2 separate regions of the Homo sapiens genome follow, and region 1 is linked to region 2. Evidence: promoter capture Hi-C in human tissues and cell types (Jung and others, 2019). All regions are on one chromosome and are shown on one strand. The core of a region is centred on a gene start or on the middle of the fragment in contact, and the rest is flanking DNA. Distances in the headings are between cores, read along the strand shown.

Region 1 (3,434 bases), core at 896-3,395, 470 kb before region 2:
TTGGAGGCTCCGTTTGGGTCAGCTGCTGTTTCAGATCTTGACTGGGTTCCATTAATTCAGCATGCCTCTTACCAGAGGCTTCAGGCTAGGAAGACCCCTCAGCTAACACAGAGGCACTGTCACATTTTTCTAGTAAGCAGGAAAAAAAAAAGAAAAGGAAGAAATTTCAGGCACCAGGAGACCAATAAATCCAGGTTTATTACAAATAACCTTTGAGGCCCTGCCCACCTGTGAATGGGGACAGGTGGTAGGCAGCCTCAGGTACCTAGAAAGTCTGAGAAAGATTCTGTGTTAGGAGTCTCTTCCATATCCTAACACCTGAAGGAATCCAAATTGGGAGTTTGTTTTTGTTGTTGTTGTTGTTTGTTTGTTTGTTGTTGTTGTTGTTTAGAGAGAAGGGTCTTGCTCTGCCCCTCAGGCTGGAGTGTACTGGCGTGATCACCATTCACTACAGCCTCAAACTCCTGGGCTCAGGGGATCCTCCCGCTTCAGCCTCCTAAGTAGCTAGGACTACAGGTGTGTGCCACCATGCCTGGCTAATTTTTAAAATTTTATGTGGAGATGGGGTCTTGCTGTGTTGCCCAGGCTGGTCTCAAACTCTTGGCCTCAACGATCCTCCCACCTTGGCTTCTTAAGTAGCTAGGACTACAGCTGTGGTAGAATTGGAAGGTCTTAAGATGTGTTTTCATCCTTCCAGGGACTGGATATCTTAGACCGAAGCTCAGAATTGATTCATTCTGGGGAGCTGACCAAAATCACTAAGCAAGGCAAAAGCCAGCAGCGGACGTTCTTCCTGTTTGACCACCAGCTGGTGTCCTGCAAGAAGGACCTGCTGCGCAGGGACATGCTGTACTACAAGGGCCGGCTGGACATGGATGAGATGGAGCTTGTGGACCTGGGGGATGGGCGCGACAAGGACTGCAACCTCAGCGTGAAAAATGCCTTCAAGCTCGTCAGTAGGACCACAGACGAGGTTTATTTGTTTTGTGCCAAAAAACAAGAAGACAAGGCGAGGTGGCTGCAGGCCTGTGCAGATGAAAGGAGGCGGGTGCAAGAGGACAAGGAGATGGGTGAGCAGCCCTTGGCTCTGCAGGCACCTGTGCCTCTGCTTGCTGTAATAGCTTCATTCTCCACTCCCATGGGCCTGCTCTGCCCAGCCTTCTCCCTCAGAGCTGAATCCCACCATGGGGAAAGGACAAGGGATCTGCAAACCCTAAATACTTCTGAATGCACTTACAAGACAGACCATGTCAGATGTAGTTACTACCGGCAACATTTATTCAGTATTTACCTTGTGCCAGACATTCTGTGGCCCATTTATAGAGATTGTCTCATTGAATCCCTATGAAGTGGTTGCTGTTATTATACCCAATTTACAGATGAGAAAATTGAGGCTTATGGAACTGGCCCACTCTTGCACTGTGGCCACATAACATTTAAATCCAGCACTTTGGATGCCACATGCAGGGTATGAAGAATAAATAATAAAACCAGTTCAGTGTGACCCCAGAGATGGAACCCCACTATGGTGACCATCACCCAGGCTATCAGAAGTATCACGTGATTCTGGAGGCCTCCCCTTTGGCTGTGCCTGTGCAATACCTTCAGTGTTCTTCACTGCCACAGTTGATCCACACCCAGCAGCCTGCCCTCATGCTTCCCATCTCTCCCTATGAAACTCAGGATGCCGCATCGTCCATTGCAGTTAAGGCGATGGTACTTCACACCCAGTGTTACATTTGTACTTCTTTGGTTTGTCTTCCCAGCTTCTGCTGACCTGGAGGTGCAGTGTGGCCCCTGAGACTGAAGCTGCCATGCCTGGCATTAATGATGGCAGCACCCACAGTCTCTGAGCCTCTATTTCATTGCCTCCCAAGCTCTTTAGGGTTTTGAGCACAATCTGTTGAATGGAAGTCAGGGAGCCACAGTGAAGGATATTCATCTCTGCAGCCCAAGTGAGCCCAGCCCTCAAAAGTCATGGTCCAGGACGGAGGGGAGCCAGCATACGCCCCTCCCCATCCTTGCCCACTGCCATGAGGACAGCAGGACTAAAAACCAGGAGGTGCTTTTTCTGTCCTCCCCAGCCACTGGCTCTAAGCTTGGCTACAGAATTTGGTCTCACCCACAGGAGGTTTTGTGAGATTCTGCAGTAGAGTTGGAGGGATTTACAAGTTGGTCAGGCTAAAACGGAAGCAGGGATCGACTTGGAAACACTCAATGGGTAGACATTGGCCTGGACTTGGGCCACTCCAAGATACAGAGCTCCCCACATCACAGGCAGCCCCTTACACCAAGTGTCAGGGTGTCCTTTACACTAAGAGGAAATCTGATTCCCAGCAACAGCCATAGATTATTGGTGCAGACTCTGGGGCCCCATTGGAATAGGGCTAATCACTCGTGCCCAGAATTCATTTGAAGATGACAGTTACTAAAATGCAAAATGACAGAGCCACAAAATCTTAGTTTTAGTCGTCATATGACGTTGTCTAGCGCAGGCCCTGAAGTCATCTGTAAGTCAGAGTGTTTGGATTCCCAAAGACGGCACTATTTAGTGGGGGCATCCTATGTGCTTTCAACAGTGTCTCTCAATAGGAAGGAAAGGAGGGGCCCGATGTGGTGCCCTTTGCCATGTAATGCTCCCTGTGGCCAGTGCTCAGAGATGCAAGTGCATGACTGAGGCACTCCTGAGCCAGTAAGTCTGTGAACTGGCACGTGTGGGATAAAACTGGATGCATTCCTTGCCTCGAATATTTTGGCAGCCCTCGTACTTGATGCATGTGTGTGGGTAGAAGCTTCAGGTAGCAGATCAGAGAGAATGGACACGGAGGGCCTTGGAGGCAGGGACAGCCCGGTGGCCAGCGTACAGAGCCTGAGCCTGACGTCAGGACAGTCTGGGACAGATGTTGGGCATGTGAAGGAATCAGGGCCAGGGGAGCAGAGTGGGCAGAGGTAGAGAGGGAGCCTCGGGAGCGAGCCAGGCAGTGCAAGCTAGCAGACACAGGGCCTGGGTCAGCTCTGCCAAGCTGGAGCGAGTACCTGCCTACAGGAGGAAGGCTTCCCGCGGGAGAAGGCAGGGCCCCAGCACCCAGCCCTGGCCATTCAGCTCTGTCCTTCCTTCTCCTTCCCCACACCCTGCGAAGCCAAGGGTTGCCTCATCTTGTCTTTCCAGTGACTCTTGTTTCACCCAGTTCACACACTGCACACGTACACTGTCACTGTGCTACTGGACTTTACAGTGAGGGAATGCTCAGGGCACACACTACACACAGCTGGGGTACAGAATCCGCTACCTGCTACTCACGTGGTACCTTTGTTCAGGGTGGAACTGCTAACGTGCAAAGCTCTCATAGCGTATGGGTGAACACGCCCTGGGACCCTTTGCTCTGTCCTCTCCTTCTGGGGCCTCATCCTTTAGGTTATAATTGGGATGACCC
Region 2 (3,940 bases), core at 1,096-3,595:
CTGATTTATCCAAGATTAATTCAATTTCTGGGATTACCAAAGGCATCTCTGATGAAACTCAAGACCCACATTAAATATCCACATTATGGCCCACGATGAACACCTATGCAATGAGATTGTCATTATTCAAATTACAGTACAGCTATCCTAGAGGAAAAAGAGGCTTGCTACATGCTAGAATAGCATTAAGTGTGGAGAGAAATGTGAAGGTTTAAAGGAGAAAGTGCTTCTAAAGCTGATCCAGGAAGGATAAGGAGAATATGGGCCGGACGCGGTGGCTCACGCCTGTAATCCTAGCACTTTGGGAGGCCTAAGGCGGGCAGACTGCCTGAGCTCAGGAGTTTGAGAGCAGCCTGTGCAACACAGTGAAACCCAGTCAATACTAAAATACAAAAAATCAGCTGGGCGTGGTGGCATGCGCCTGTAGTCCCAGTTACTGGGGAGGCTGAGACAGGAGAATTGCTTGAACCCGGAGACCAAGGTTGCAGTGAGCTGAGATCTCGCCATTGCACTCCAGCCTGGGCGACAGAGCAAGACTCCATTTCTAAAAAAAAAAAAAAAAAAAAAAAAGAGAATATGAATTGATGAAGAGTGAACAGTAGGTATTCCAGATGAGGGGAATAGGGAATAATACTCACAAAACTGTAGAAGAGTCAACATGTTACATGAGAATATTGGCTTGATTAGTACTCAGTTCCATCATGGATTAGTAGTGGAAACTATTGGATGAGTAGTAGAATGAGGGTAATTTAGGGAAGCAGTACTTTTCTCTCGAAGACAACAAATTACAAAGATTTTTGAGCCGAAGTGAGCCTTTCAAGAGAATACTTACTTCACAGTTTCTAGTTACCCACACACAGTGTAGAGAGAAAAGAAAATGAGGAATATGGGCAGGCTTTATTCTTAGCAGCAAAAGGCAACCGTGCCACCTCCAGGTGTTTTGTTTGAAATACACCTGCCACCTTTCTACTAGATTACTTCATTCCTTGCTCACAAAACGTCTCATGCACTCTACTGCTTAAAGAGTAAAGTCCAAACTCCTCAGCCTTACACTCGAGATTCTCCGAAATTCTTCCCTGACACACCTCTCCAAAGAAGCTTACTTTAAGGAAACTCATACTCTGGCTAAATGGTCTTTAAATTCTCAAGAAGTCACTGTGTCTTCCATCTACCTTCCCTCACATCTACCTTCCCTCGCTGATGTGTTCTTTATTCTTGGAATCCCTTAGTTCTTGTTTACTCCTGTAAGTACTACCTAGGTTGTAAGGTCTAGTGCAAACCCTATATCCTCTACGAAGAGTTTTCATACCACCGTAGACCATATTGACTTCATTTCTTCATTGCTTTTTGTGAACTATGCTTGGACAAGTTGCTTCAACTCTTTTTTTTTTTTTTTTGAGACGCAGTCTCGCTCTGTCGCCCAGACTGGAGTGCAGTGGTATGATCTCGGCTCACTGCAAGCTCCGCCTCCCAGGTTCACGCCATTCTCCTGCCTCAGCCTCCCAAGTAGCTGGAACTACAGGCGCCCACCGCCACGTCCGGCTAATTTTTTTTTTTTTTTTTTTTTGTATTTTTAGTAGAGACAGGGTTTCACCATGTTAGCCAGGATGGTCTCGATCTCCTGACCTCGTGATCTGCCCGCCCTGGCCTCCCAAAGTGCTGGCATTACAGGCGTGAGCCACCGCGCCGGGCCCAGAAGGCTAATTCTTACTGTCTCTAACACAGGTCCGGTACATAACACTTATTTTGGCGGAAGTTACTGGGTTTTTTTAAGGAGTTATGTATCTCTCAAGCAGAAACCTGCTAGTTCATAAATTCTTAGCATCCCCAACCACTCTTGGCACGCTGCCTTGTATATTATTAGGCTCAACAGCAGTTAGTAATGATGAACACTCCTTAATTCGAAAGCGTTCACTGAATCTACCCCAACGATAGCTTCTCATTAGCTTCTCCACTCCAGCTGCTATTGGCCAAGCCCTGGATGCCCGAAGCACACAGGTTTAGGGCTTCTGGCCCTGACACGTAATAGGGAAAGGGGATTGTTTCAATCCAAATGATTATCTATAAAGTCACTCACAATGTAAGTAATAATATGCGAAATTTTAATTTGTGATGACTAAAAGCACTAAAGTGGTGACTCTTTGGGTAGAACGTAAAAACGAACGGTCCTCAACGGCCACAAGGCGCCCCTTCTAGGAGTGGTACCTCCCAGGATAACGGAAAACAGCCCCAGCCCCATCAGGAGCGAGCTTGGGGGCGGGCTTTAATCTCCCGGCCCACTGTTTGGCTATCTGCAGGGGCTGGCCTCCAATGATTGGTCGCTGCCGCGAGGGCCGCCGGGACTCGCACTCGGCGGTTGTTCCAGAAGAAAGAGACAGCGATGGCGGCAGAGGCTTCGAAGACTGGGCCTTCTAGGTCTTCCTACCAGCGAATGGGGAGGAAGAGTCAGCCCTGGGGTGCCGCTGAAATCCAGTGCACCAGGTGTGGAAGGAGGGTATCCAGATCATCCGGTGAGGAGCCCAAGGGCCCACCTAGCGGGGAGGCAGCCTGGAGGGAGCGCTGGGGGCCAGGTGAGCTGGTGGGCGCGTGAGGCTTGGTCAGCTGCATCCAATCCTGGTGTCACCAGAAACTGCGTCACAGGCCTCCCGCGAGCTGCACCCGACCTCTAAGAGGGCAGTGCTTGGGTTGGTTAAGGGCAGCACCTGCGCCTGTCACGGCTTTCTCCAATTACCCATCCAGGCCTCACCGACCCTCCAGCCGGGAGGATGGGGGCCCGGGTGGCTTTAATCTACTCCTCACAAGGCAGGTTAGCGGGTGCATGCAAAAGTAGACATAAAATGTAGCCCATTGTTTTGTCATCAAGAAGGAACGAAACTTGATTTTCTCCTGTAGTTTTTGTTGTAGGAGTAACAAGTAGACCATTGTGAAATGGTTTTGGATTTTGTTGTTGTTGTTAGCATTTTGTTGTTTCTGTGGGGGTTTTTTTGTTTGTTTTTTACATTATGGCTCACACTGGCCTAAAACACTGTTTGGAAAATGATAGTTTCTTTTGTGCACCTTGTGGGGTGTGTGTGTGTGTGTGTGTGTGTGTGTGTGTGTGTTGGTCTTTATACGTGAGGGGAAAAATACACTGCACTATTATTGGTCTGTTCACCTACAATCTACTCAAGTGATCACAGGTTCAAGTTATTTATTATTATTTTTTTCTTTGAGTTGGAGTCTCGCTCTGTAGCCCAGGCTGGAGTGCAGTGGCGCGATCTCGGCTCACTGCAAGCTCCGCCTCCCAGGTTCACGCCATTCTCCTGTCTCAGCCTCTGGAGTAGCTGGGACTACAGGCGCCCGCCACCACGCCCGGCTAATTTTTTGTATATTTAGTAGAGACAGGGTTTCACCGTGTTAGCCAGGATGGTCTCGATCTCCTGACCTCGTGATCCGCCCGTCTTGGCCTCCCAAAGTGCTGGGATTACAGGCGTGAGCCACCGCGCCCGGCCGGTTCAAGTTATTTTAATGTAACTTAAAATACCTTAGTGTGCTCTTAATACAGCTGAGTTGTTGAATCTCAATTCCTGGAGCTACTGAAAATTCGTATTACCTGGCGTAACTGTTTAATGTTTATACTTTCAAAGTTAAGGTCATTCGATCAGTTTTCTCAGTCTTGGCAAGATGGACTCTGTGAGATGTGAGCCTCTGCAGAAAAAGTTGTGATTTCAGTGGAGAACCAAGTTTCTCCTACTTGGGGTTTAGATCACTGCTACCGTTACGTAGAAAATTTCCATTTTTGAATGAAATTAAAATTACGGAATAAAGTTCTAGAACACAACCTTTTAAAATGAGTACTTCTTCCATACATTAGTATTATAATGCTTAGAAAAACTAAACTGGAGAAGTAGTGGTTATGTATATAGAATCCTGAAAGTGCTTTTTAAGCTGTAATTCACCA

What was found. Contacts are between HindIII fragments. The study calls those that stand out against the background at their distance.
Region 1: a contact is called between a fragment that was not itself captured here and the fragment with the promoter of RNF17 in region 2, in 1 of the 25 tissues and cell types used here (dorsolateral prefrontal cortex).

Annotation. Positions count from the first base shown.
Region 1 is chr13:24,296,666-24,300,099 of GRCh38, forward strand. It overlaps SPATA13 (spermatogenesis associated 13), which reads left to right. Exons shown (of 13, transcript NM_001166271.3): 11 at 698-1,070. Among named protein-coding and RNA genes, the nearest start is that of C1QTNF9, 11 kb to the right of the region's middle. The HindIII fragment of the contact is 4,817 bases long and covers 1-3,434 here.
Region 2 is chr13:24,761,824-24,765,763 of GRCh38, forward strand. RNF17 (ring finger protein 17) reads left to right here and starts at 2,346. Exons shown (of 36, transcript NM_031277.3): 1 at 2,346-2,510. The coding sequence starts at 2,381. The HindIII fragment of the contact is 17,753 bases long and covers 1-3,940 here.